7 separate regions of the Homo sapiens genome follow, and regions 1, 2, 3, 4, 6 and 7 are each linked to region 5. The links are contacts of gene promoters, found by promoter capture Hi-C in blood cells and fetal thymus (Javierre and others, 2016). All regions are on one chromosome and are shown on one strand. Each heading gives the region's core, a stretch centred on a gene start or on the middle of the fragment in contact. The rest is flanking DNA. Distances are from core to core; before and after follow the strand shown. Region 1 holds the start of PRSS53 (serine protease 53). Region 2 overlaps KRABD5 (KRAB domain containing 5). Region 3 overlaps KAT8 (lysine acetyltransferase 8). Region 4 holds the start of STX4 (syntaxin 4). Region 5 holds the start of COX6A2 (cytochrome c oxidase subunit 6A2). Region 6 holds the start of BCKDK (branched chain keto acid dehydrogenase kinase). Region 7 overlaps ZNF668 (zinc finger protein 668).

Region 1 (3,754 bases), core at 1,090-3,589, 340 kb after region 5:
TGGTTCTGTCTACCTGGCCTGGATCCTGTTCTTCGTGCTCTATGATTTCTGCATTGTTTGTATCACCACCTATGCTATCAACGTGAGCCTGATGTGGCTCAGTTTCCGGAAGGTCCAAGAACCCCAGGGCAAGGCTAAGAGGCACTGAGCCCTCAACCCAAGCCAGGCTGACCTCATCTGCTTTGCTTTGGCATGTGAGCCTTGCCTAAGGGGGCATATCTGGGTCCCTAGAAGGCCCTAGATGTGGGGCTTCTAGATTACCCCCTCCTCCTGCCATACCCGCACATGACAATGGACCAAATGTGCCACACGCTCGCTCTTTTTTACACCCAGTGCCTCTGACTCTGTCCCCATGGGCTGGTCTCCAAAGCTCTTTCCATTGCCCAGGGAGGGAAGGTTCTGAGCAATAAAGTTTCTTAGATCAATCAGCCAAGTCTGAACCATGTGTCTGCCATGGACTGTGGTGCTGGGCCTCCCTCGGTGTTGCCTTCTCTGGAGCTGGGAAGGGTGAGTCAGAGGGAGAGTGGAGGGCCTGCTGGGAAGGGTGGTTATGGGTAGTCTCATCTCCAGTGTGTGGAGTCAGCAAGGCCTGGGGCACCATTGGCCCCCACCCCCAGGAAACAGGCTGGCAGCTCGCTCCTGCTGCCCACAGGAGCCAGGCCTCCTCTCCTGGGAAGGCTGAGCACACACCTGGAAGGGCAGGCTGCCCTTCTGGTTCTGTAAATGCTTGCTGGGAAGTTCTTCCTTGAGTTTAACTTTAACCCCTCCAGTTGCCTTATCGACCATTCCAAGCCAGTATTGGTAGCCTTGGAGGGTCAGGGCCAGGTTGTGAAGGTTTTTGTTTTGCCTATTATGCCCTGACCACTTACCTACATGCCAAGCACTGTTTAAGAACTTGTGTTGGCAGGGTGCAGTGGCTCACACCTGTAATCCCTGTACTTTGGGAGGCCAAGGCAGGAGGATCACTTGAGGCCAGGAGTTCCAGACCAGCCTGGGCAAAATAGTGAGACCCCTGTCTCTACAAAAAAAAAAAAAAAAAAAAATTAGCCAGGCATGGTGGTGTATGTACCTATAGTCCCAACTAATCGGGAAGCTGGCGGGAAGACTGCTTGAGCCCAGAAGGTTGAGGCTGCAGTGAGCCATGATCACTGCACTCCAGCCTGAGCAACAGAGCAAGACCGTCTCCAAAAAAAAACAAAAAACAAAAAAAAACTTGTGTTAACGTGTTAAACTCGTTTAATCTTTACAGTGATTTATGAGGTGGGTACTATTATTATCCCTATCTTGATGATAGGGACAGAGTGGCTAATTAGTATGCCTGAGATCACACAGCTACTGCAGGAGGCTCTCAGGATTTGAATCCACCTGGTCCATCTGGCTCCAGCATCTATATGCTTTTTTTTTTGTTGGTTTGTTTTTGAGACGGACTTTCGCTCTTGTTGTCCAGGCTGGAGTGCAATGGCACAATTTCGGCTCACCACAACCTCCACCTCCCAGGTTCAAGTGATTCTCCTGCCTCAGCCTCCCGAGTAGCTGGGATTACAGGCATGCGCCACCAGGCCTGGCTAATTTTGTATTTTTAGTAGAGACAGTGTTTCTCTATGTTGGTCAGGCTGGTCTCGCACTCCCGACCTCAGGTGATCTGCCTGCTTTGGCCTCCCAAAGTGCTGGGATTACAGGCGTGAGCCACCATGCCCGGCCAGCATCTATAATATATGCTAAACCTTACCCACAGCTGCCTCTGTCTTGGGGTCAGGGTTCTTGAATGGTCTGGGCCAGCCTGAGTTAGGAGTGGGAAGAGGAAGAGGAGGCACGCGCCAAAGTGTTCTTCCCGCCTGACCGAGTCCTCTGCGCCTATGAGGAAGGTGGGCACCGCTGTCACCCTGTTTCCCAGGAAGCCAGCAGGCCCAGGGAGATACTGGGATTTGCCAAAGGCTCACAGCGAGCAAGCAGCAGTGGGTGCTGGCTCCTCACCACTCAGCCTGGCACACACTGTCTCTGAGCAGACCTGGGAGAAGGCATGTGAAACCCACCTAGCCCTGGCTGGAAGAGAAGTGGGGGAGTGGAAATGAAAAGTGGGGACTGGGAGGAGCTGCCCACGTGCCCTCCATGGTTCCAGGATGGCACTTTCATGCTGGGAGTGAGCTTGCCCTGTGCCAGGCTGTCATTGAGACGTTTTCCATTCAACAACTGTTTCTCAGACAAGGCACAGGCAGGTTAGCTCTCCCAGGCCACTCAAGTAGTAAGGAAACAGATTTAAACCCAGACAATTTGGCTCCACGGCTAAGGCCCAGAGAGGGGTGGTGACAAGCCTAGGGTCACACAGCCACAGCCCCAGAGCTAGGAACTGCTGGCTAGGGCAAGCAGACAGCTGAATCCTAGCCAACTGGAGGTGGAGCAGAGGTGGAGCCAGGGAGACCCAGGTGGCCTCTCTCAGAGTGGAGCACAGGTGGCAGAGTGGCCCGGGGCAGCATGAAGTGGTGCTGGGGCCCAGTGCTGCTCATCGCGGGTGCCACAGTCCTCATGGAGGGTAAGCCGCCATGTGCTGGGGTATGGGTGTGGCCTGGTGGGGGCTCAGGGGCCATCTCTGCCCCAGCAGTCCCTGCTTCTTGGTGGGGGGACCGCCTGTGGGCGACAGTCCACCAGTGGGGATGTAACTCCGTAGGACTCTGTGGGGTGGTATATGTGGCCACCTGTGTCAACATGGATGAGATTTTCTCGGGCCAGCTGCAGTTTGCGTTGGCGGGGCCTGTGGTCTTGTGTGTGTGTGAGGTGCTGCCTGCGTGTGTCCTGTGCCTGCCTCCCCCTCGACTTCCACAATGACGTCAGGCAAACTCTGGGCTCCTCTGGCCTCAGTTTCCCTTTCTTTTCATCCATCCTCTGGGCAGCCTGGCTCAGCTGTCTCATGGGGTGCCTGTGTGCCTGTGAGGGGCGGTGGGCAGGGGCCCTCTCTCTGGCGGGCTCTCAGACAGTTTCTGGGAAGGTGGGGAAGACTGAGTCTCTAGACCAGGGTGAGGTAAGTCTCCATTTCTTGGGGCCCTCCCCACTTGGAAATGATGCAGGCCTCTAATCCTTCCTCTTAGGCCTCTGCTGCTAAGAGGACAATTAAGCTAATGCTCTCTACACACACAGGCCGCCTGGCTGACTCAGTGGCGGGGGCAGGAGTTGGGGGTTCTGAAGCCTGGAGGAGGGCTGGCCTACTCCCAAGCTGAACCCCAAGCCCCAGAGTGCTGAGCACAGCTGAAGGAGAATTAATTACTGAGTGTGCACACTGAATAGGTTCCAATAAAAGCTGTCTCGGCCTCATATAAATATTTTCATTCTGGGAGGGGCTGGTAAGGTAATCAGAGTCACAGGCAAGGACCCTGGGCCCGCCCCCCAGCCCATCCCCTCTCCTCCCCAAAGCTAGGCAGGCCTGGAGTCCCTGCATCTTACCTGTGTCTCTCTCTTCCCAGGTCTTCAAGCCGCTCAGCGTGGTAAGGTCTGGGGACACGGGGCCTAGGTCTTACTTGGGTCTGGGTTGGGACTGGGGTGAGGTCAGGACAGGTATCTGCTGTCAGTGTGACTAACTCCTTTCCACAGCCTGTGGACAGCGTGGCCCCGGCCCCCCCAAGCCTCAGGAGGGCAACACAGTCCCTGGCGAGTGGCCCTGGCAGGCCAGTGTGAGGAGGCAAGGAGCCCACATCTGCAGCGGCTCCCTGGTGGCAGACACCTGGGTCCTCACTGCTGCCCACTGCTTTGAAAAGTAAGTCAT
Region 2 (3,529 bases), core at 765-3,264, 300 kb before region 5:
GTAGATTTTTTAGCAGAAACCTTACAGGCCAAATGGGAGTGATACCATATATTAAAAGTGCTGAAAGAAGGAAAATTAAACAAACAAACAAACAAAAAAGACAACTAAGTAGGCTATACACAACAAAGCATCTTTTAGAAATAAAAGAGAGATGAAGACATTTCAAGACCCCCCCACCAAAAAAAAAATTAAAGGAATTCATCACCACTAGACCTGTCTAGAAATGCTAAACGACTAAAGGGAATTACTCAAGTTGAAGTGATGAAATGCTAACTAAATATGAAAACATTAAAACTACAAACATCACTGGAAATGGTAAATAGTGAAATTCAGAATACTCGAATATTGTAATGGTGGTACATAAGTCACTTTTAATTCTAGTATAAGAACTATAAAACAAAACTATTTTTTAAAAGTATAGCTATGATAATTTGTTAATGAATACAAAATATAAAAAGTTTTAAAATGTGACATATATAGTATAAAATGTGTGAAGGGGAGGAAAAGCATAGAGTTTTTCTATGCATAAAAGTTGGATAATTATCATCTTAAACTAGGCTGTTATATGATGTTTTATGTAAGTCTTATAACCACTAGAGAAAAAAAAACTGTAGTAGATACAAGAAAAAAAGAAAGTAATCAAAGTATATAAAAACAACAAAAACAAGACAAAAAATTAACATGACCAAAGCATAAGAGGAAAAAAGAAACAAAGTATAAAATAGAAAACAAACTTATAATAGTTACCTATCAATAATTACATATAAAGAGATTAAATTATCCAATAAACAGACATTGATAAAGACTGAATGTCACTTCCAAAATTTAGGTTAAAATTTAATAGCCACTGTGATAGAATTAAGAAGTGGGACTTTTAAGAAGTGATTAGGCCATGAGAGCTCTGCCTGCATGAATGTATTAATGTCCTTATCACAGCAGTGGGTTAATTATCACAAGTGTGCGTTTGTTATAAAAGGGAGCTCTCTCCCCCTCGTGCCTTTGGCCATGTTATTATGCAGCAAAAAGGTCTTCACCAGATGCCAGTGTCATGCTCTCTGCCTTCCCTGCCTCCAGAATCACAGGCTAAATTAATTTGTATTCCTTATAAATCACCCATTTCATTATAAAATACCCTGTGAATATTCTGATATAGCAGCACAAAATGGATTTAAAACAGACAGTGGCTGAATGAATTTTTAAAAATCCAGTGACAGGTTGCTTACAAGAGACTCACTTTTGATTTAAGGACAAACATAAGCTAACAGTGAAAGAACTGGAAAGGATATTCCATACAAATGATAAACAAAAGAGTGCAGGCAGGGGTAGCTATACTTACATTAGACAAAACAGGCTGTCTGACAAAATCTGTCACAAGAGACAAAGGAGTTAACTATATAATAATAGAGAGGTTAATTTGTCTAGAGGATAGAGCAATTAAATAGATATATGCACCCAACACTGGAATACTTAAATATATAAAGCATACATTAACAGAACTGGAAGGAGAAATATACAGAAATACAACAAAAGAGAACATTAGTACCCTACTTAAAATGGATAGATCATTCAGGCACAAAATTAAGAAAGCAGTGCACTACTATAACACTATAGACTAAATGTACATATAACATCCCATCCAACAATATGAGAATACAGTCTTCTAAGAATACATGAAATATTCTCCAGGACAGATCACATGTTAAACCAAAAGTAAAAAGCAGTAAGTCTTTTCAAATGTATAAAGATTAAAATTATATCAAGTTTTTTTTTCTGATTGCACTGATATAAAACTGAAAATCAATAGCAGAAAGAAAACTGGAAATTCACAAATACGTAAATATTAAACAACACACTCCTGAAAAATCAATAGGATGAAGAAGAAATCAAAAGAAAAATCTAAACATATCCTGAGACAAATGAAATTGGAAACACAAGAAACCAAAACTTCTGTGATGCAACCAAAACAGTTCTAGTACAGAAGTTTATAATAATAAAGTTCTACATTAAGAAAAAAAAAGATGTTGAATAAGCAATCTAACTCAATTCCTCAAGAAACTTGAACATGAACAAAATAATCCCAATGTTAGCATAATTATGAAAATAGTAAGAATTAGAACAAAAAGAGACTAAATAAAGACTAGAAAGGCAATAGAAAAGATCAAAGAAACTGAATTGAGTTTTTCAAAGAAAACAAAATTGAGAAACTTTTGGCCAGATTAAGCAAAGGATCAAAAAGAGAGAGGACTCAAAAAATTATAAGTGGGCTGGGTGCACTTCCTCATGCTTGTAATCCCAGTGCTTTTGGAGGCCATGGCAGGTAAATCACTTGAGCCCAGGATTTGGAGACCAGCCTGGGCAACATAATGAAACCCTTCTCTCTAAAAAATACAAAAATTAGCTGAGCATGGTGGTACACCCCTGTAGTCCCAGCTACTTGGGAGATGGGAGAATAACATGAGCCTGGGAGGTTGAGGCTGCAGTGAGTTATGATCATGCCACTGCACTTTGGTTTGGACATCAGAGTGAGACCCTGTCTCAAATAAATAAATAAATAAATACATAAAAGAAAGAAGGATGAGTCATTACAACTGACAACACACAAAGAATAATAAGAGACTACTATGAACAATTATATGACAACAAATTGGATAACTTAGAAGAAACAGATTCTTAGAAATGAATGACTCACCAAGATTAAATCACAAAGAAACAGAAACACTGAACAGACCAATAATAAGAAAGGAGATTGAAGCAGTTATAAAAAAATCCAATGAGAAAAAGCCCATGACCAAATGAATTCATGGGTGAATTGTATCACACATTTAAAGATGAATTAATGTCCATCCTTCTCAAATTCTTCCAAAAAATTGAAGGGAAAAAACACTGCCCCTTAGTTTGCATGTAATGAAAAGTGGGTATATAAGTACATGACTGCAGAACTGCTCCTCTCAGCACACTGCCTACAGGGTAGCCTCGCTCCACAGGAGCAGTCATAGAGCTGCAACACTGCCAGCTCAATAAAGCTGTTTTCTTCTACCACTATCTTGCACTTGAATTCTTCCTGAGTGAAGCCGTGAACCTTCCCAGGATAAGCCCCAATCTGGGGGCTCACCTGCCCTGCAACAAGAGCAATTAGGTAAAAAAAAGAAATAAAAGGCACTCATATCAGCAACGAAGAATTGTAATTTTCTCTGCTTGCAGATTAGGTGATTTTATATACAGAAAACCCTAAAGAGTATACAAAAAGAGTTAGAGCTAATACTCATTCAGTAAAGCTGAGGTCACAAAATTACCATACAAAAATTAGTTGCATTTCTATATACTAACAATTAATGATCTGAGAAAAAAAGTTAAGCAAACAATCCAATTTATAATAGCATCAAAAGTATAAAATTCTTATGATTCCATTTAACAAAGGAGGTGAAAGATCTGCTCAGTAAAATCTGTAAGACAGTGATGAATACAATTGAAAAAGACACAAATAAATGGAAAGATATCCCTTGTTCATGGACTGGAAAAATTAATACTG
Region 3 (3,518 bases), core at 38-2,537, 300 kb after region 5:
CCTCCCTGGAGCTGCCGGCGCAGCCGCCCTCAGTCTCCATGCCTGCCTCTGCCTCTCACCGGGCCCCTGCCCAGCTCGGCCCGGCCGGCCCAGCCTCACCAAGTGGAAGCGGTAGCTCTTCTCATATTTCATGTACTTGAGGCAGTACTCGCAGAGCCAGAGCTTGGGCTGTTTCCCATAGTCTTCGGGGAATGGTGAGAAATACCAGGCATCAATTTCGTAGTTCCCGATGTGGATCTTGTCCACATACTTCACCTTGGTGATCTGCAGGCAGGGTGGGAGTGAGGCACAGTGCACGGCTCAGCAGGGGCTCCTCGGCAAGGGGAGACGGGGGACCTGCAGGCAGCTTCCCAGCCCCACTTACCGCCTCATGCTCCTTCTCCAAGGCTGCTGTGGTGGGGTCCATCTCTGCATAAGTCTGGGCCAGGAAAGAAAAGTGGGCAGAGGTGAACAGAAGTGGTGACCAGGCTGTCCCTCCCGTCAGGACCCACAAGGCTTCCCTGCCGTCTACCAGACCTCATTCCTGGATGGCAATAATAACCACACCAATAGCTAACCTATCTGACTTGGTTCTGAAGCTGGCTGGTCCAGACTCCTCTCACACCCACCCGCCCCACCCCCGATATCCCAGACATCCCTGATGTCCAAGTTTGGACCTTTTGCCAGATGAACAGGGTTAGGATCAGGATGGGGCTTCAGCTGCACGATGGGGGGCAATCCAGCTCTGCCAAAGTTGTGAGACTCAAATGAAATAACAGATTTGCCTTCCAGGCCCAGCGTAAGAACTGTTACTACCTCCCCGATGTTCCTGGACCCCTTTCCTGAGGACCAGACCCTGCCTGCCCATGCGACTGCCCCAGAGGTCCCTCCCACAGGGACAGCGGACTCAAGATGTGCAGAAAGGACCTCATCACTCCTCCCTGCAAACCTGCGCCTCCTCCTGGGTTGCTCATTTTACTGGGAACATCACCCTTGGTCCCAGTGTCCAAGACCCATAACTAGGCTTGCCTCAGACTACTCTCTCTCCCTCGGCCTGGCCAAGTCCTAATACAGTGGATGTCGAGTCTACTTCTGACATCTCTGGAATTGGGCCCTCTCTGGAATTCTCCTCTCTGTCCTGCTCCAGGTAGTCATGGCCCCATCTCAGGTCTGGACAATTTACTAGGCCGCCTCAGACTCCCTGCCTCCAGCCCCAGCCTCCTCATTGCTATCAGCAGCCCCCTTTTAGCGGCCTTCATGCTTCTGCACAAACAGCTCCTTCTACCTGGAGAATGCCCTTCCTTCTCTCACTGCCAGCAGAAAACACTTCCTCAGCCTGGCACGGAGCATGAGTCAGGTGAGTCCATGATGCTTTGTGATCTATCCTTTGTCACTGTTGTTATTGTGCTCTTTCCCATCCTTCAAGGCTTGAGATTCTTACCACCCCCTCCAGGAGGCCTGACTGGATTCTTCCCATCCAGAAAACATTCCCTCCTTCCCAAGTTCAGCGAGAAGTGGTCAACAGGGCAACACTGTCCAAGTATGCCCACCTGGGTTCCTCTATTTTTCAAGTCCTTAGAAAGCAGAGACTAAGAGTCACACCACACTCACAACACATCCTGCTCCTAGGCCAGACCCTGTGGGAGGAACCCAGTACAGCCTGACAATGGAAGGGGGACCCAAGACGGTCCATGACCTACACCAGGGCAGACAAGGCCCTGCCCTGTAGCTGAGAAGGGAGGAAGGAGCCAGTGCTTTACCCAGAACCCCCTCCACAAAGCACTGTGCCTATATGTTTATATGGCCTCATTTAATCCTTTCAGTAACCCTTACATAGAGTGTTATTTCTTTTTTTTTTTTTTTTTTTTTTGAGACGGAGTCTCACTCTGTTGCTCAGGCTGGAGTACAGTGGCACCATCTCGGCTCACTGCAACCTCCGCCTCCCAGGTTCAAGCAATTCTCCTGCCTCAGCCTCCCAAGTAGCTGGGACTACAGGCACATGCCGCCACATCCAGGTAATTTTTGTATGTTTAGTAGCAATGGAGTTTCGCCATGTTGGCCAGGCTGTTCTCAAACTCCTGACCTCAGGTGATCAACCAGCCTCGCACTCCCAAAGTGCTGAGATTACAGGCGTGAGCCACTGCACCCAGCTGCGTTATTTCAATTTTACAGAGTAGTAAACAGGCAGGGCAAGGTGAGGTCCCTTACCCTCGGGGACTAGTGAGCTGCCATTTATTCCAAGTGGCAAGCACGGCACAGACATGTTTTTTTTTTTTTCTTCTGAGATAGACTCTCACTCTGTCGCCCAGGCTGGAGTGCAGTGGGGAGATCTCAGCTCACCACAACCTCTGCCTTCTGGGCTTAAGTGATTCTCCTACGTCAGCCTCCCAAGTGGCTGAGACTACATGTGCCTGCTACCATTCCCAGCTAATTTATTTTGTTTTTTGAGATGAAATTTTGCTCTTGTTGCCCAGGCTGGAGCAATGGTGCAATCTTGGCTCACTACAACCTCCACCTCCTGAGTTCAAGCGATCTTCCCACCTCAGTGTCCCAAGCAGCTGGGATTACAGGCGCCCACCAGCAAGCCCGGCTAATTTTTTGTATTTTTGGTAGAGATGGGGTTTCACCATGTTGGCCAGGCTGGTCTTGAACTTCTGACCTTCAGATGATCCACCCACCTTGGCCTCTCAAAGTGCTGGGATTACAGGCATGAGCCATAGCCTTTTTTTTTTTTTTTTTTTTGAAATGGAGCCTCGCCCTGTCGCCCAGGCTGGAGTGCAATGGCAAAATCTCACGTCACTGCAACCTCGCCTCCTGGGTTCAAGCGATTCTCCTGCCCCAGCCTCCCAAGTAGCTGGGATTACAGGTGTGCACCATCACACCCAGCTAATTTTTTGTATCTTTAGTAAAGACAGGGTTTCACCATGTTGGCCATGCTGGCCTCCAACTCCTGACCTCGTGGTCTGCCTGCGCCTGGCCTCTTTTTGTATTTTTAGTAGAGACGGGCTTTCACCATATTGGCCAGGCTGATCTCGAACTCCTGACCTCAAATGATCCAATCATCTCAGCTTCCCAGAGTGCTGGGATTACAGGCATGAGCCACTGCACCCAGCCGACATTATTTCATTTTGTTCCTCACAATGAGCCTTTGAAATAAGAGTGCTCATTGTCCCTGTTGTATGAGAGAAAACTGAGGCACAAAGAGGTGAGGTCACTTGCCCAAGGTCACAGAACTGGTACTCAGCAGAGTTGGGCATGGGCCCCTGGTCTGTCCAATTCTGAACCTAACCACTGTAAAGATGAGGAAGAAAGATTTTCCTCCTCACACATCTCTTTAAAACACATTTCCCAATTCTCACAAAATACAGTACTCTTCTGCAAATGCAATAAAGAACTACAAAAACACTACTTTTCTTAATTGTTGCAATTTATTTAGAATTAAACATTAATTAGGCTCTGAAGAACCTTGCTGATTGTTAACTGGATGATTGTTTCATTACCTATTCTTTGATTTTATCACCACTGGCCCGTTATCCACC
Region 4 (3,727 bases), core at 680-3,179, 390 kb after region 5:
GGGAGGCCGAGGCAGGAGGGTCACCTGAGGTCAGGAGTTCGAAACCAGCCTGGCCAACATGGTGAAGCCCAGTCTCTACTAAAACTACAAAAATTAGCTGGGCATGGGGGTGTCCGCCTGTAATCCCAGCTATTCAGGAGGCTGAGGCAAAAAAAGAAAAGAAAACATGTGTCCCACAGCCAAGACTAGGTCTTGTCTGGGGTCACAGTAACTTCCTATTGAATGGAAGAAAATAAAGCAGGGTGTTATAACCGGACTGAGCATCAGGAGACCTGGCTTCCTGACCTTGAGCAAGTTCTTTCTCTCTCTGAGCTCAGTTTCCCCATTTGGAAAAGTCATCCAATTGGACTCCATGATCTCTGCAGGCCCTTCCTTCATACACCTGTCATCTAATACTTCATGAAACATTTGCTGAAATGTCCTCATTTCTGAGAAAAAAAACCCACCTGGGTTTTTCTCATTCTTGTGTTGACGGAGTTATAGTTCTCATCAGCTTCCTCCTTCTGGGGCTCTATGGCTGTGGGAAGACACAGGGGTATTGGGGGTACTTGTCTCCATAGGATTTTTAGGGAAATATAATTTATCATAAAATGACTAAGGCTGAGCCTCTAAGAGGAGAAAGTAAGTTTATTTTTCTTTGCATTACATCACTGAGTTCCCATAGGTATGCAGAGGCCACCTAACAAAACTCCATCTCCCTGCCCAAAGAATGCCCAGTGGGCAGCGATAACTGTGTAAGTAAATGGTTTCATTGTAAATAAAAGAACCTGAGAGGCGGACTTGTGCTGTGGAGAGTACAATGGCCTGGAGGCCAGGAGACAGATGCTAGACCCAGGCCTGCTGTGTGACCTGGATATATCACTGGCTTCTCTGGGCCACACACTCCCCAGATATACCAACAACAGGGCAGGATCAGAGGGAAGGATCTGTCTGAGGTCCCAGGAGCTCACCCTTCAGCTGCAGGCGGATCTCCCTCCCCAGCTGTTTGATCTCATCGCGCAGGTTCTGCAGCTCCTGCTTCATGCCTGAATAAGAGAAGGCCAAGACTCCCAAACAGCAGCCCCCACCTCAACAAACCACTCTGGCCACCACCTGCGTGGAACTACAACCCCCACAATCCCTGGGGCGGAGCATGCGCCCTGCAGCCGGGGTTTCACTCACTCTCCTCGGGAAGGGGCGTGGCCAGGATGGTGACCTGCTGTTTCTCCAACTCCTGGACTTTATTCCCCAGTTTGACAATAGTCTGCCGAATTGTCCGGACCTGGGGAGGGTGACCGAGAGGGCTGAAAGAGATATGGGGTACTCCAGACCACGCTACTCCTCGGGTCCTCCTACACCCTCGCGAATCCAGGCGGAGACCCCAGCCCCTTACCTTGTGGAAGAACTCCTCGTCCGGGCTCCCCAGCCGTGCCGTGCCCGGGTGCACCACCAGCGCGACCCGCTCCTTGTCCTCTTCGTCCGAGCTGTCATCCCCCTGCCAGGCCCGGAGTCATTGGCACCACCGTTTCGCTGCGGCTCTTACCCCGCAGGACCCACAGGCTTCCGGGACTTTCCTTCCTGGCCATCAGCCACCCCTCCCTATCCCGAAGACCAGAAGTCCTGCGTTCCAGTTCGTCCGCCCGTCCCCATCCCCGCTGCCCTGGCGTCTCACCTGTCTCAGCTCGTGGGTCCTGTCCCGCATGGCGGCCTGAGCTCTCCCTCCCCGGCGCCAGAGCCGGGAGGCCCTCAAATTTGGAATTCCCGTACCCCGCTCACACTCTGACACTCCCCTCCCTCCCCCTGCGGACCCCAACACCCCCACGAGCCGCCAGAGGCTCCGTCCCTTGCACCGCCCACAGTCAATGGGAAGGCGCCGACCCCGGGGACCCCCCAAGGTTCCACAGGTTGGAATTCCCTTTTCTTCCCCGCTCCAGCTCCCGCAGCCTCAGCCCCGCCCCTCCGTGATAAATTCGGGGCATGCGCACATGGTCGCGTCTCTTCCTTGCCCGAGGCTGGGAAGGTGGAGTCGGAAGTTGTTGCGCCCCGAGCGGAAGCGGAGATGCCTGGACGCGAGAACTTGCTACCGTCACCGGAACCGTTGCATCTTCCAACGGAAATCTGGTTGCCAAAAGGGGTAGGAATACGTCATTTGTACGTAATCCGAGACACCCGCATCTCACATCACCCCATGGTGCCCCCACCGCGTCACGTGACCAGCCCGGTCCCAAACTCGTGGACCGCAGAATGTGACCCTGTGACTGTCACGTGTCCCGGCTCTGTCACCGCCGTCTCTGGGACGCCGTTCTCATCACGACGTCCCCGGCACCCCAACGACCGAGCGACGCCCACACGGCCCCCGCGAGGTGGGGAGGGGCGCGCCGACCACCCCCAGAGGCCTTTCGAGGCAGTGGGTGGTAGGACCCTTGCTGACCTCGCCTTTATTGCTTTCGGGTCCAGGGCGTGGGCGGACTGACGACTTAGCATTTGGGGCTGTCAGCATCATGGGACCTTGAAAATCGGGAAATAATAGGATCCGAGTCGTCAGCGTCAGAAAATTGCAGGGTTGTGTGGGCAGGGAATCTGGGGGTGGGAAGTGACCTCAGCCAAGGCAGAAATCTCTTCTTCCGCATCCTTCTGGCGCAGCCTCTGACAGGTGGGCGGCCAGCCGGCGCCCTCCTTGAACACTGCAGCCCGGCTGCACTCACCACCTTGTGAGCCGTCAGACCATGTCAGGGCAGCTCAGGCTAAGAAAAGTGTTTGTATTGATCACGCTGCCTCCCTGCCACTCACACCCCCCAGCCCCTGCCTTGCATCTGAGGCCAGGTAATGACTTTGTTCTTAACTGAATCTGGGGAGTTCCTAGCCCAGTACCAAGAACATTACGGGCCCTCTATAAATACTTGTGGACAGAATTTCAGGCTTTCATGTATCTGAGGATAAAGCCCCTGGTTCCTTGGTCTTCTTTAGGCTTCAGGCTTTCTGACTGTGACACTTCTCTAATCCTGGCTATCTAGATATTCACTCATTTTTTATTTTTAAAAATTTTTACGAGATGCGGTCTCACTATGTTGTCCAAGCTGGTCTCTAACTCCTGGGCTTAAGCAATCCTTCTGCCTCAGCTTCCCAAAGTGCTGGGATTACAGGCATGCACCACCATGCACAGCAACATTCAGTCATTTAATGGATATTTTTTGGGCACATAGTATGGGCCAAACACTGTTCTAGGGCTGGAGATACATCAAGGACTAATAGACAAAAATTCCTGCACTCGTGGAACTTATATTCTCTAGAAGGAGTCCCCAAGGTCACTCAGCAAGTCTCAGCATAGCCGGGAATGAATAACAGGTCTCCTGGACCCCAGGGCTCTGTCCAGGAAGCTTCTGTGAAGGTACAAGCAAGGAAAGGAATGGACCCTTTCTGCTATGCCCTGGTCAGGAAACCTAGATTCCTGGGACTGAGTTGCTATGGACTTCTGGAAATCGCTTCCTGTCTCTAAGTGTGGATCTCCCTCTGCACAGTGGGTAACTGTAGGGGGATGGGGAGATCATCTTTATGGGTATCGGCTGCTCTAAACTTCAGTGATGATGAGGTTGGAAACTGTCAAGTGCTGTGTGATTCTATGTGAGGAGTTTTGGCTCTTCTCCTCTTCCTGTTAAAACCCAGCTCAGGCAGGGTGTGGTGGCTCATGCCTGTAATCCCAGCACTTTGGGAGGCTGAGGCAGGCAGATCACCTGAGGCCAGGAGTTGG
Region 5 (3,684 bases), core at 682-3,181:
GCACGGGCCACCACACCCAGCTAATTTTTGCATTTTTAGTAGAGATGGGGTTTCACCATGTTGGCCAGGCAGGACTCAAACTCTTGACCTCAAGTGATCCGCCCTCCTCATTCTCCCAAAAGTGCTGGGATTACAAGCGTGGGCCACTATGCCAGGCCTCTAGAACTTTGTCAAGTAAAAATACCTGTCTTCATGTCTGTTTTCTCCAGGAGCCATTATCTTATATACGTAGGGAGGGGGCTATGTGTAGAGGGAGATGCCAGGTATCTTTAACTGGAATAGGGCCCCATCTTCTCTGCAACAATGCCAAAGTCCAGCTGGGAAAAAAACTGTAGGAAGAATTCTATTATAGCTCAGTGAGAGCTCAGGAATAATTTTTGTAACACTGTATAACATTTGACTGCTCAAGGAGGTTATTTTTTTTAAAAATAGCAGCAGCTTAAAGTTGGATGGAACATACTGTTCAGTTTATTACCAATGAGAAACAGGTATAGAGCCCCTTCTTGAAAATATATCTTCCTCGTTTTTTTTATATATTAAATTCAGATTATATGTCTATATAATTCATTCTTCTTTTGTATATTAAGTTCATATTAGTACATCAGCCCTTGATCAAAGCTAGAAGCTTCCTATTGGATTGTAATTCTGAAAAGGCATTGTTGTAGGGTTAACCAAAGTAACAAGGTTCAAGCATTCATTACATACATATTTTTAGAACACCTCCTTCATGCCAAGGTCCCTGCCCGTTGCTGAGGACAGAACAGGCAGATGTCATCCCTGCCTGGTCTTGTGGCTTTCTTGTGACCTGCTTTGATAGAGGGTTCACACCAGCCCTGTCTAGGCTTGCTTTCTCCAAGTAGTCATATTTTTCAGATTGAAATAATGCACTTTGCAGTAGACACCTGTCAGGCTTGTGGCTGCCTGGAACCTTTTGAATACTCATCCTAGACCTGGAGATTTTCCCTACAATTCCTGCCTCCCTAAGGCAGAATCCAGAGCTCAGTTTCCCATCCCCTCCTGCAGCTGGGGGACCTAGGGGTTGCCAGTTGGTGCAATCACATAATTCTTTCAGAAAAGAGCGACCCAGGATACAGGTTTCATGAAGAATCTGTTTTCAAGAGGGGATGAGGGTGGAAAATTCTGGTTTTCCAGGGCAGCCTTAATGAAGCTTTTGGCATCCAGGGTCCAGCAGTGTGAGCTGTGGGGGTGTCACTGCAGCTGGCCAACGGAATGACTTGTTTATGACTGTGCAGACTGTAGGCATCTCTGGCTATATCAGACATAGTAAGCTACCTAAGATTCTCAATTACTTATCTTCTAAAACTAGTAAGAGTGAGTTCTGTTCTTTGCAAAGAACTGTGACTAATACATATACTGAACTACTGTTACCTGCCAAAATCCAGGTTGACACATTCCTACCTTACATAAACTTCATAAAAATGATGTAAGGGCCGTGTAGTGGCTCATGCCTGTAATCCCAGCACTGTGGGAGGCTGAGGCGGGAGGATCACGTGAGCTCAAGAGTTCCACACCAGCCTGGACAATATAGTGAGATCCCCGTCTCCAGTATTTAAAAAATCTTTTAAGGTACGAATTATTATACATTTTACAGCTGAAAACACTGAGACTCAAAAAGACACTTAATTCATTCTACAAATATTTATTAAAGCCCAACTGTGTGCCAGCCACCAGGCATAGAATAGGGAACAAAATAGTTTCCCTGCAACTATATAAAAAGAATGGCATATTGTACTTAAATGCCTCCTTGCCAAAATAAGAGGCACAGGACAACAGCTGTCTGGAGATGACCTCAAGCCAGTCAGGCCCCATTTTAAATATAGAAACCCCTAAGAATAGCCGCCAGTGCTCCAGACTCAACAGGTGATTGGCCCAGAGAGGGGAGGTGACCCCAGGCCCCAGGAAAGGGAGCGAGGACAGCGCTGGTTCCCGGCTCCCCGCACCATCATGGCTTTGCCTCTGAGGCCCCTGACCCGGGGCTTGGCCAGCGCTGCCAAAGGAGGCCACGGAGGAGCAGGAGGTGAGTGGGGAACGGGCGGATCCGGGGGCTCCCCTACCCTGCCCACCTGTTCACAGGCCCGCCGCCCCAGGACCGCCGCGCTCACCCCGCTCCGTCCGCAGCTCGTACCTGGCGTCTGCTGACCTTCGTGCTGGCGCTGCCCAGCGTGGCCCTCTGCACCTTCAACTCCTATCTCCACTCGGGCCACCGCCCGCGCCCCGAGTTCCGTCCCTACCAACACCTCCGCATCCGCACCAAGGTACGCGGGACGGGCGCGCGGGCGGCACGGGGGTGCTGCGGGGGCGGGGGGGGGTGCTGCGGGGGCGGGGGGGGGTGCTGCGGGGGGGGGGTCGCGCGGGGCGCGGACTCCGGACTCACGGCGCTCACGCGCGCTCCCTCCCCCGCTCTCTCCACAGCCCTACCCCTGGGGGGACGGCAACCACACTCTGTTCCACAATAGCCACGTGAACCCTCTGCCCACGGGCTACGAACACCCCTGAGGCCCCGGACGCCCCCGGACACAATAAAGGTGTGAAGCTTCGAGTCTGCGGCTCTGTGGGGAGGGCGGGGCCACGGGGAGCGCGCCCAGAGGCGCCCGCTCCGCGCATGCGCCCAGCTTGGTAAGCGCTCCTGCTCCGCGCATGCGCCTAGCGCGGTGGGCGCTCCACGTGCTTTTCCCACGCCGCTGATACGGAGGTGCTCGAGGGAGCCTCCTCCACTCACAGGTAGGCGATCCCAGCTCCCTGTCTCTCACCTGGTAATAATGAGGCCTCCCTCTCACACACACCTATTAATAATTAGGGCTCTAGGCTGTAATGGGCTTCCGCGTACACCGAATCCTCACAGTAACGCTGGGAGCAGGGTATAAATTTAGTTCACCTTCTCCCGAGGAAGACCTGAGATTCTTGGGAATTAAATGACTTGTCCAAGTTCCGGCAGCTCGGCAGAGCCCCCATGGGAGCCCAGGGCTGCAGATCCTGAAGTCCCACTTCTTGCCTGACACCTGAGCTGCTGGTGTCTGTGAATCCCAGCTCTCTGGATTTCAGACGGAGGCTCCACAGTCCTGTGTGTGAGGCCTTGGGACCTAATGCTGGATTTGGAATCTTTTGATAATTCTCTATAATCTTTCTTTCTTTTTTTTTTTTTTTTTTTGAGACGGAGTCTCGCTCTGTCGCCCAGGCCGGACTGCGGACTGCAGTGGTGCAATCTCGGCTCACTGCAAGCTCCGCTTCCCGGGTTCACGCCATTCTCCTGCCTCAGCCTCCTGAGTAGCTGGGACTACAGGCGCCCGCCACCGCGCCCGGCTAATTTTTTGTATTTTTAGTAGAGACGGGGTTTCACCTTGTTAGCCAGGATGGTCTCGATCTCCTGACCTCATGATCCACCCGCCTCGGCCTCCCAAAGTGCTGGGATTACAGGCGTGAGCCACCGCGCCCGGCCTATAATCTTTCTTAATGAGTCTTCTATATGGGAAATCACATGCTCCTAGCCTGGCTCTCCTGGCTTCTGAGTACCTCATTCAAGGGGGACAGGAGTTCAAATGAGCTCTGGACATTTCTTCACCTCCTAGGACAGCCTGCCCACTTACCATTACAGAGGAACCTGAAGTGTGTGAAGAAACCCATGACCAATGCATGCCTGCGTGCACGTGCATGCACATGCACACA
Region 6 (3,544 bases), core at 174-2,673, 320 kb after region 5:
TGACCTAAGGTCCTCTCTACCTTACCACGTGCAGTATGGTGGGGTTGCAGCCAATGATGAAAGGAAGGCAGCGGAAGCCCTTGATGCGGTGAGCAATCCTCACTGGAAGTTCTTGCTGCAGGTACCGAGCACTTTTCTGGGAGAAAATGAGAAGGGAAGGCGGGGCTGGAGCCTGAGTGTCTGGGAGAGCTCCAGGATCCACGAGGAAAATAGAGGGCGTGAATCTTACCAGAAGGTGGCTGCCGTCCTGAGAGCGGCCAGCGTAGAGCATCATGGTGGGCGTTAGGCGGACTGAGGGCTAGAGAGGGAGAGAGGCCTTGAGCAGAGAACCCCCAACACTCTCCCTCCCGCCTACATCCCGGACCCTGGGCTGGCTGCCCCCTTGCGCACCTTCTCCGCTGCCGCGTCGATGGCCGACTGGTTGTAAAAGGAGGTGACGGTCTTGGAGCGCTCCCGAGCCATCTCCACGTGGTGTGTGTCGGTGGCCGACGTCGAGCGGGCCCGGAGCGCGAGTGCGGGTCCCAGGAGGGGCCGGAGCGGAAGCCCGCCCCCGGGACCGCTCCTCAGCACCGACGCCAGGATCATCGTCTTGCTCCTTTCAGACCCGGTGGCCGCTAGGACTGAGGATCCGCTAGGACTGAGGACCCAGGCGACCCAAAATGGGGCAAGGGGGTGTGGGTGGGTAGGGGCTCTTCTCCGACTTCAGGGACCAGGGTGCGTCGAGGATGCTGACAGGCTCAGCCCGCGGAGAGCAGCTCCCATCTACCGGGGCGGGGAAGAGGAAGTTGTAAGGATCCGAATCCACAGAACCCGCACCATCTCTCCACCTGTGCATCGGTCTCCCCAGACCCGGGCGACCTCTCCCCACCACTCCCACCGTCTCCCCAGATGCACACAGGCCGCGCCCAAAGGACCTAGCCTCCCGGGGGCTTCTATTCCCCAACCCGAGGCTCTACTGGCGGTGGGAGGGCTGTCGGGGGAGGAGCCCCTCAGACCCTTCCAGCCCGAAAACCTCGCCCCAGCGCCCCGGGGTCCCGGGTACCCTTCTCAGGGGGCGGGGCTGCCCCTGCCTGCCCAGCGCCTTCAAACCCGGGCCCTGGGAGCGCGGCCAGCGAACGTGCGACACCAGCCCTGGGCCCCTGGGGCCGGCTTGGGAGGGTGCGGCACGGAGTCCCCAGCGGGACCCCCCACGCGGGTCACTTGGTTCGGCCCGGATGCCCCCCATATGGTAGATGCCAGCCCCGTCTGCGCGCCCGCGCTGTGATGGAGGCTGCGGACGTGCGCCGCGGGGCCTCCGCGGACTGAGTAGGCTGGGGTCGCCCCACTTACCGCGGGGCCGGAGCCAGGGCCCGGGTCCCAGCGGAAGGGCTCGAACAGTCCACTCGCCAGGCGCCCAGCCGCCTGCGCCCTCCGCCGCCGTGACGTCGCGTGGGCGGCAGCGCCCGCTGGGTCCTGGGAGTTGTAGTTTGGTCTGAGGACGTGCCGTCCCGGGCGCCCGCGCATCCAGGCCACGCCCTTGCTCCCGGACCCCAAACAGCACCGCTTCCTCCACACGGCTCTCGAGGCTCTCCGTGTCCCTCCCAGCCTCTATCTCCTGCTCTATGAAACGGGCTCCCTGGGAGCTGGAAGATCTTAGATGTAAAGCGCACAGATCACGCCCTACCTGACTCCTTCTCGGAGCTCTTGTCCTCCTTCCAGTTCTTGGTTCATTTATGGGTAACCAGGCTTCAAACCCCAGCTCGACCCCTTAATATCTGGAGCAAGTTATTTAACTGCTCAGTGCTTGGTAAGATGAAGAGATATCATCAGTTTTGGGGTTGTGTGGATTACATGAATTTATATGAGTGCCTAGAACAGTGCCAGGCGTGGAATTAGCACTATATAAGGGTTAGGCATTATTATTATTCACTCATGCCTGCAGATAATGCAAGTCGCTGACTGGGTGTCTTTTCTGCACCAGGAGAGGAGATTGGGCAGTGAGTTGAATAGATCTTTCCGTGCCCTGCATAAGAAAACAGTTTCAGTATCATTGGCTGTGATGAGGACTTTCAGAGGAGGCTGCGGGAGCCTCAGATAGAAACTGAGACAGCTGTGTAGGTGCAGCCTGAGTAGGACTTGCAAGGGAGCGGGGTGGGAAGGGTGTGTGGCAGGACAGACAACAGCCCAGATGGTCTGAGGATATGGCTGGAGCCATATGGGATCTGGGAAGGAGAGGGGCGGCAGCAGAGAGCGAAGGATAAGTCTGCATTTGTCCTAGGGTAGTTAGGAACTACTGAAGGGTTTTAACTGGTGGGCTCTCCTCCTTAGACAGAACCCCTTGTCTGCAGTGATTTAGAGTGGGGCGTTTGGTGAGACCAAAGGCAGAGAAACCAATAAGAAGACAATTACTTTAGGCCAGGCGCAGTGGCTCAGGCCTGTAATCCCAGCACTTTGAGAGGACGAGGTGGGCGGATCTCAGGAGTTCCAGACCAGCCTGGCCAACTTGGCAAAACCCCGTCTCTACTAAAAATACAAAAATCAGCCGGGTGTTGTGGCTGGCGCCTGTAATCCCAGCTACTCGCGAGGCTGAGGCAGGAGAATCGCTCGAACCCGGGAGGAGGAGGTTGCAGTGAGCCGATATCCCGCCACTGCTCTCCATCCTGGGCAACAAGAGCAAAACTCCGTTGCAAAAAAAAAAAAAATTATCCAGGCAGGAGGCGCTGGAAGGGACACGTTTCAGTGTGTGCACGTGCATATGTGTGTAGTGTGTATTTGTACTAATTGCAATTTTCTTTACCATGGTTATATATTTCCTAAATATGTTCAATAAAAAGTGCTAAGTGAAGCAAGTGACATCTTTGGAGGCTATCTTTATTTATTTATTTGGAGATGGGGTCTCGCTCTGTTGCTCAAGCTGTAATACAGTCGCTCCATAGTAGCTCACTGCAGCCTCCGACTTAAATGATCCTCCCACCTCAGCCTCTCAAGTAGCCGAGACTGTAAGTGTGCACCACTACCCCCAGGGTGATTTTTTCCCCCTCAGGCAATCCTTTTGCCACAGCCTCCCAAAGTGCTGGGATTACAGACGTAACCCACCGTGCCTGGCCTATTTTTCTTAGAGCCGGGGTCTCGCTATGTTGCCCAGGCTGGTCTCAAATTCCTGGCCTCAGCCTCCTGAGTTGTTGGGGTTACAGGAGTGAGCCACTGGGCCTGGCGGCTGTCTTTAAACTTGGAGGTTAGCCAGGTGCAGTGGCTCATGCTTGTAATCCCAGCACTTTGGGAGGCCAAGGCGGGCAGATGACCTGAGGTCAGGAGTTCGAGACCAGCCTGGCCAATATGGTGAAACTCTGTCTTTACTAAAAATACAAAAATTAGCCGGATGTGGTGGCATGCACCTGTAATCCCTGCTACTCGGGAGGCTGAGGCAGAAGAATCGCTTGAACCCGGGAGGCGGAGGTTGCAGTGAGCCAAGATCGTGCCAATGCACTCCAGCCTGGGCGACAGAGAGAGGCTCCGTCTCAAAAATAAATAAATAAATAATAAATAATAAACTTGAAGGTGAAAA
Region 7 (3,849 bases), core at 380-2,879, 360 kb after region 5:
GGCGGGCCGGGTTGGCCCAGCGCGAGCAGCGCGGGCGGGGCGGGCTGTGAGCGGCCCCGGGCGCATTGCGGGCCCAGCAGGTCCTAGAACCCGCCGGCTGTCTCCGCGGTTCTGGGCTGCGGACACCCAGGCTCGGCCCGCGCGGCTGCTGGCCCGGCGCGGTGTGGTCCCGGGGGTCCTAGAGCCCGCCATGTTTTGGGTTTTTGTCCCGGTCGCGTGGCCCGCGCTGCAAGATCCCAGGCGCCGGCGGCCCCCTCCCCTGCTGAGGCCCGGCCACCACTCCCGCGGTCCTAGAGAACGCCATCTTGCAAGCCTTTGTCCCTCATTCGGCCTTCCGTCCATTCATTTGTTCATCTCCTCATCCTTCGTTCAGTCCTCCTTGCCACGTCCTCCGAAGCCACGTTTTCTGAGGCTTATAACCGGGGTCCTGCCCTCCAGGGGCTGCCTGGCTGGCGGGGGCGCCGCGTACAGACGGTTGCGAGGAGCGAGGAGCTCCGGGTTTCTGCAACTCTCGGCTCCTCGGCGCGCTTCGTAGGCCCCACCGCCCTTCAAACTCCCACAAACTTAAGGGACCCCATTTTACTGATGAGGAAACTGAGGTCCAGAGCGGCGTGGGGCCCTTACCTCTCTACTGCCATAAAGTATTCCTGAGGGCACTAGGGAAGGGGGTTCTTGAAGGATGTAAAGGGGCTTTCCCGTTGGAGAAGGCAGGCAAGGGCTCCCCGAGCCCAGGAAACTGCATCTAGAGGTGGAGGATTGAGAATTGTGGCTGGAGGTTCGGTCGCTGCCGGGAGGAGGACTCTGTCGCTGGAGCTGAGGCTGGAAAAGTAGGTTGGGATCAGGTTGTGAACTGGCCCGGTAGGAGGCCTAGGATATGATTAGCGCTCACTTCTGCAGGGTTCATCCGCTCACTACGTCACTCCTGGCCGTGAGGCCTGTGTGGTGACTGCTTGTTTAGAGATGGGAAGATTGAGGTGCCTCCTTTTTCTCCTCATCCCTGCCCCAGGGTCCTAGCCTAGGATTTTTGGAAATTGAATCTTTGCTTGCCTAGTGAGACAGCAGAACTTCATCCCCTTCCTAAGCCAGTAGTGAGGCAAAGCAAGGCTTCATCGCCACGACAGGGAGCCCACTGTGGGATATTGGGGCAATAGTTGAGCCTTGTGGAGTTGGAAAGGTGGAGGAATTTAGTTAATAAACAGTTATTGGTGGACATTCTCACAAACTCCTACTGTGGAGGAGGCAGAGGCTACAGACCTGGGTTCAAATTTCATCTGAGGTTGGTTCTTTCCATTTGTTTTGGGTCACCACACAGGGTTCTGGGTGTAGAGGAGGCAGATGATCGGTTTCCTAGCCCTTTGCCAGCCTGGACTCTGGTGCTGGTGATGAAGAATTAACAGCCAAACCATAAGATGTGTAATGCTAGCAAAGCAATAGTCAGGGCTCAGAGAGCAGGTGTTTGGGATTTGAACACTGGCTGGGACCGTGACTAGTAAGCTTGTTTCTTTGTGGTGTCACTTCTCATAAGAACGCTAATCCTACTGGACCAGGGCCATACCCTTATGACGTCATTCAGCCTTAATTACTTCCATAAAGGCCTTGTCTCCAAATACAGTCACAATGAGAGTTAGAATTTCAATATATGAATGGACAGGGAACACAAACATTCACTCATAATGAACTGCTAGGCAGCTGTGCAGTTGGCTTGAGTAGTTGAGTATTATGCACAAAATGCTTAGAATGATACCTTGCCCATGGTAAGCTTGCAAGGAGTATTGTCCAGATGACACCATAAAGGAAATTAGAGAGGAGGGGTGCTGGTCACTGTGGCTCATGCCTGTAATCACAGCACTTTAGGAAGCCATAGTGGAGGAGCATCTGAAGCCAGGAGTTCTTGAGACCACTGTCGGCAGCGTAGTGAGACCTCCATCTCTATATACAAAGAATTTTTAATAAATTAGCGAGGTGTGGTGGTGGGTGCCTATAGTCCTAGCTACTCAGGAGGATTGCTTGAGTGCAGGAGTTTGAGGCTGAAGTGAGCTATGATTGAGCCACTGCACTCCAGGGTGACAGAGTGAGACCCAATCTCTAAATAAAAATAAAGGCCAGGCACGGTGGCTCACGCCTGTAATCCCAGCACTTTGGGAGGCTGAGGCGGTCGGATCACTTGAGGTCAGGAGTTCGAGACCAGCGTGGCCAATGTGGTGAAACCCTGTCTCTACTAAAAATACAAAAGTTTGCCAGGTGTGATGGCTTTCGCCTGTAGTCCCAGCTACTCGGGAGGCTGAGGCTGGAGAATCACTTGAATCCGGGAGGTGGAGGCTGCAGTGAGCTGAGATGCAGCCACTGCACTCCAGCCTGGGCAACAAAGACTTTCTCTCAAAGAAAATAAATAAATAAAAATGAAATAAATAGGCCGGGCATGGTGGCTCAAGCCTGTAATCCCAGCACTTTGGGAGGCCAAGGTGGGTGGATCACCTGAGGTCAGGAGTTCCAGACCAGCCTAGCCAACATGGCCATCTCTACTAAAAATACAAAAAATTAGCTGGCTGTGGTGGCAGGCACCTGTAATCCCAAATACTTGGGAGGCTGAGGCAGAAGAATTGCTTGAACCCAGGAGGCAGAGGTCGCAGTGAACTGACATCACACCATTGCACTCCAGCCTGGGCAACAGAGGGAGACTCTGTCTCAAATAATAATAACAATAAATAATAAAATAAATAAAAATAAGCCAGGCACGGTGGCTCATGCCTGTAATCCCAGCACTCTGGGAAGCCGAGGCAGTGGATCATCTGAGGTCAGGAGTTCGAGACCAGCCTGGCCAACATGGTGAAACTCCATCTCTACTAAAAATACAAAAAATTAACCAGGCGTGGTGGTGGATGCCTGTAATTCCAGCTACTCGGGAGGCTGAGGCAGGAAAATCTCGTGAACCGGGGAGGCGGAGGTTGGAGTGAGCAGAGATGGTGCCATTGCACTCCAGCCTTGGCAACAAGAGTGAAACTCTGTCTCAAAAATAAATATATAAATAAAAATAAAAACATTTTTTAAAAAGTAAAGAGGGCTGGGTGCGGTGGCTCATGCCTGTAATCCAAGCACTTTGGGAAGCCAAGGTGGGTGGATCACTTGAGGTCAGGAGTTCAAGACCAGCCTGGCCAACATGGTGAAATCCTCTCTCTACTAAAAATACAAAAATGAGCCAGATGTAGTGGCGGGCGCCTATAATTCCAGCTACTCGGGAAGCTGAGGCAGGAGAACCGCTTGAACCCGGGAGGCGGAGGTTGCAGTGAGCAGATATTGTGCCATTGCACTCCAGCCTGGGGGACAGAGTAAGACTCCGTCTCAAAAAAAGGGCCGGGCGCGGTGGCTCACACCTGTAATCCCAGCACTCTGGGAGGCCGAGGCGGGCGGATCACGAGGTCAATAGATCGAGACCATCCTGGCCAACATGGTGAAACCCCATCTCTACTAAAAATACAAAAATTAGCCGGGATTGGGCCGGGTGCAGTGGCTCACGCCTGTAATCCCAGCACTCTGGGAGGCCGAGGCAGGTGGATCACGAGGTCAGGAGATTGAGACCATCCTGGCTAACACAGTGAGACCCTGTCTCTACTAAAAATACAAAAAATTAGCCGGGCGTGGTGGCGGGCACCTGTAGTCCCAGCTACTCAGGAGGCTAAGGCAGGAGAATGGCATGAACCCGGGAGGCGGAGCTTGCAGTGAGCCAGGATTGTGCCACTGCACTCCAGCCTGGGTGACGGAGTGAGACTCCGTCTCAAAAAAAAAAAAAAAAAAAAAATAGCCGGGCGTGGTGGCGGGCACCTGTAGTCCCAGCTACTTAGGAGGCTGAGG

What was found. Contacts are between HindIII fragments. The CHiCAGO score rates a contact against its expected background, and 5 or more counts as called.
Region 1: the fragment with the promoter of PRSS53 here is called in contact with the fragment with the promoter of COX6A2 in region 5 in 2 of 17 cell types (monocytes and megakaryocytes); the score reaches 7.3 in monocytes.
Region 2: a contact is called between a fragment that was not itself captured here and the fragment with the promoter of COX6A2 in region 5, in 1 of 17 cell types (erythroblasts). The highest score is 5.6, in erythroblasts.
Region 3: a fragment that was not itself captured here is called in contact with the fragment with the promoter of COX6A2 in region 5 in 6 of 17 cell types (M0 macrophages, naive CD4 T cells, M1 macrophages and 3 more); the score reaches 10.4 in M0 macrophages.
Region 4: the fragment with the promoter of STX4 here is called in contact with the fragment with the promoter of COX6A2 in region 5 in 9 of 17 cell types (M0 macrophages, megakaryocytes, total CD8 T cells and 6 more); the score reaches 10.1 in M0 macrophages.
Region 6: a contact is called between the fragment with the promoter of BCKDK here and the fragment with the promoter of COX6A2 in region 5, in 4 of 17 cell types (monocytes, M0 macrophages, megakaryocytes and 1 more). The highest score is 7.8, in monocytes.
Region 7: a fragment that was not itself captured here is called in contact with the fragment with the promoter of COX6A2 in region 5 in 16 of 17 cell types (total CD8 T cells, naive CD8 T cells, M1 macrophages and 13 more); the score reaches 14.4 in total CD8 T cells.

Annotation. Positions count from the first base shown.
Region 1 is chr16:31,087,528-31,091,281 of GRCh38, reverse strand. PRSS53 (serine protease 53) reads left to right here and starts at 2,339. Exons shown (of 11, transcript NM_001039503.3): 1 at 2,339-2,530; 2 at 3,456-3,476; 3 at 3,583-3,745. The coding sequence starts at 2,473. It overlaps VKORC1 (vitamin K epoxide reductase complex subunit 1), which reads left to right. Exons shown (of 3, transcript NM_024006.6): 3 at 1-428. The coding sequence ends at 148. RefSeq lists an enhancer at 2,162-2,662. The HindIII fragment of the contact is 23,145 bases long and covers 1-3,754 here.
Region 2 is chr16:31,726,888-31,730,416 of GRCh38, reverse strand. All of the region lies in intron 3 of KRABD5 (KRAB domain containing 5), which reads right to left. Among named protein-coding and RNA genes, the nearest start is that of KRABD5, 15 kb to the right of the region's middle. The HindIII fragment of the contact is 8,496 bases long and covers 1-3,529 here.
Region 3 is chr16:31,123,935-31,127,452 of GRCh38, reverse strand. It overlaps KAT8 (lysine acetyltransferase 8), which reads right to left. Exons shown (of 11, transcript NM_032188.3): 4 at 365-418; 5 at 100-264. Among named protein-coding and RNA genes, the nearest start is that of KAT8, 8.0 kb to the right of the region's middle. The HindIII fragment of the contact is 7,764 bases long and covers 1-3,518 here.
Region 4 is chr16:31,031,760-31,035,486 of GRCh38, reverse strand. It overlaps STX4 (syntaxin 4), which reads right to left and starts at 1,929. Exons shown (of 11, transcript NM_004604.5): 1 at 1,652-1,929; 2 at 1,373-1,474; 3 at 1,162-1,261; 4 at 951-1,025; 5 at 447-517. The coding sequence starts at 1,681. RefSeq lists enhancers at 1,071-1,581, 2,094-2,605. The HindIII fragment of the contact is 4,602 bases long and covers 1-3,358 here.
Region 5 is chr16:31,426,607-31,430,290 of GRCh38, reverse strand. COX6A2 (cytochrome c oxidase subunit 6A2) reads left to right here and starts at 1,931. Exons shown (of 3, transcript NM_005205.4): 1 at 1,931-2,038; 2 at 2,140-2,276; 3 at 2,434-2,560. The coding sequence starts at 1,966. The coding sequence ends at 2,517. The HindIII fragment of the contact is 1,386 bases long and covers 1,171-2,556 here.
Region 6 is chr16:31,106,265-31,109,808 of GRCh38, reverse strand. It overlaps BCKDK (branched chain keto acid dehydrogenase kinase), which reads right to left and starts at 1,423. Exons shown (of 12, transcript NM_005881.4): 1 at 1,330-1,423; 2 at 391-762; 3 at 230-298; 4 at 26-136. The coding sequence starts at 585. RefSeq lists enhancers at 1-805, 806-1,699, 3,307-3,544 and a silencer at 1,031-1,570. The HindIII fragment of the contact is 13,040 bases long and covers 1-3,544 here.
Region 7 is chr16:31,069,718-31,073,566 of GRCh38, reverse strand. All of the region lies in intron 1 of ZNF668 (zinc finger protein 668), which reads left to right. It also overlaps a transcript of ZNF646 not described here. Among named protein-coding and RNA genes, the nearest start is that of ZNF668, 2.6 kb to the left of the region's middle. RefSeq lists a silencer at 1-176 and enhancers at 65-359, 1-451. The HindIII fragment of the contact is 265 bases long and covers 1,497-1,761 here.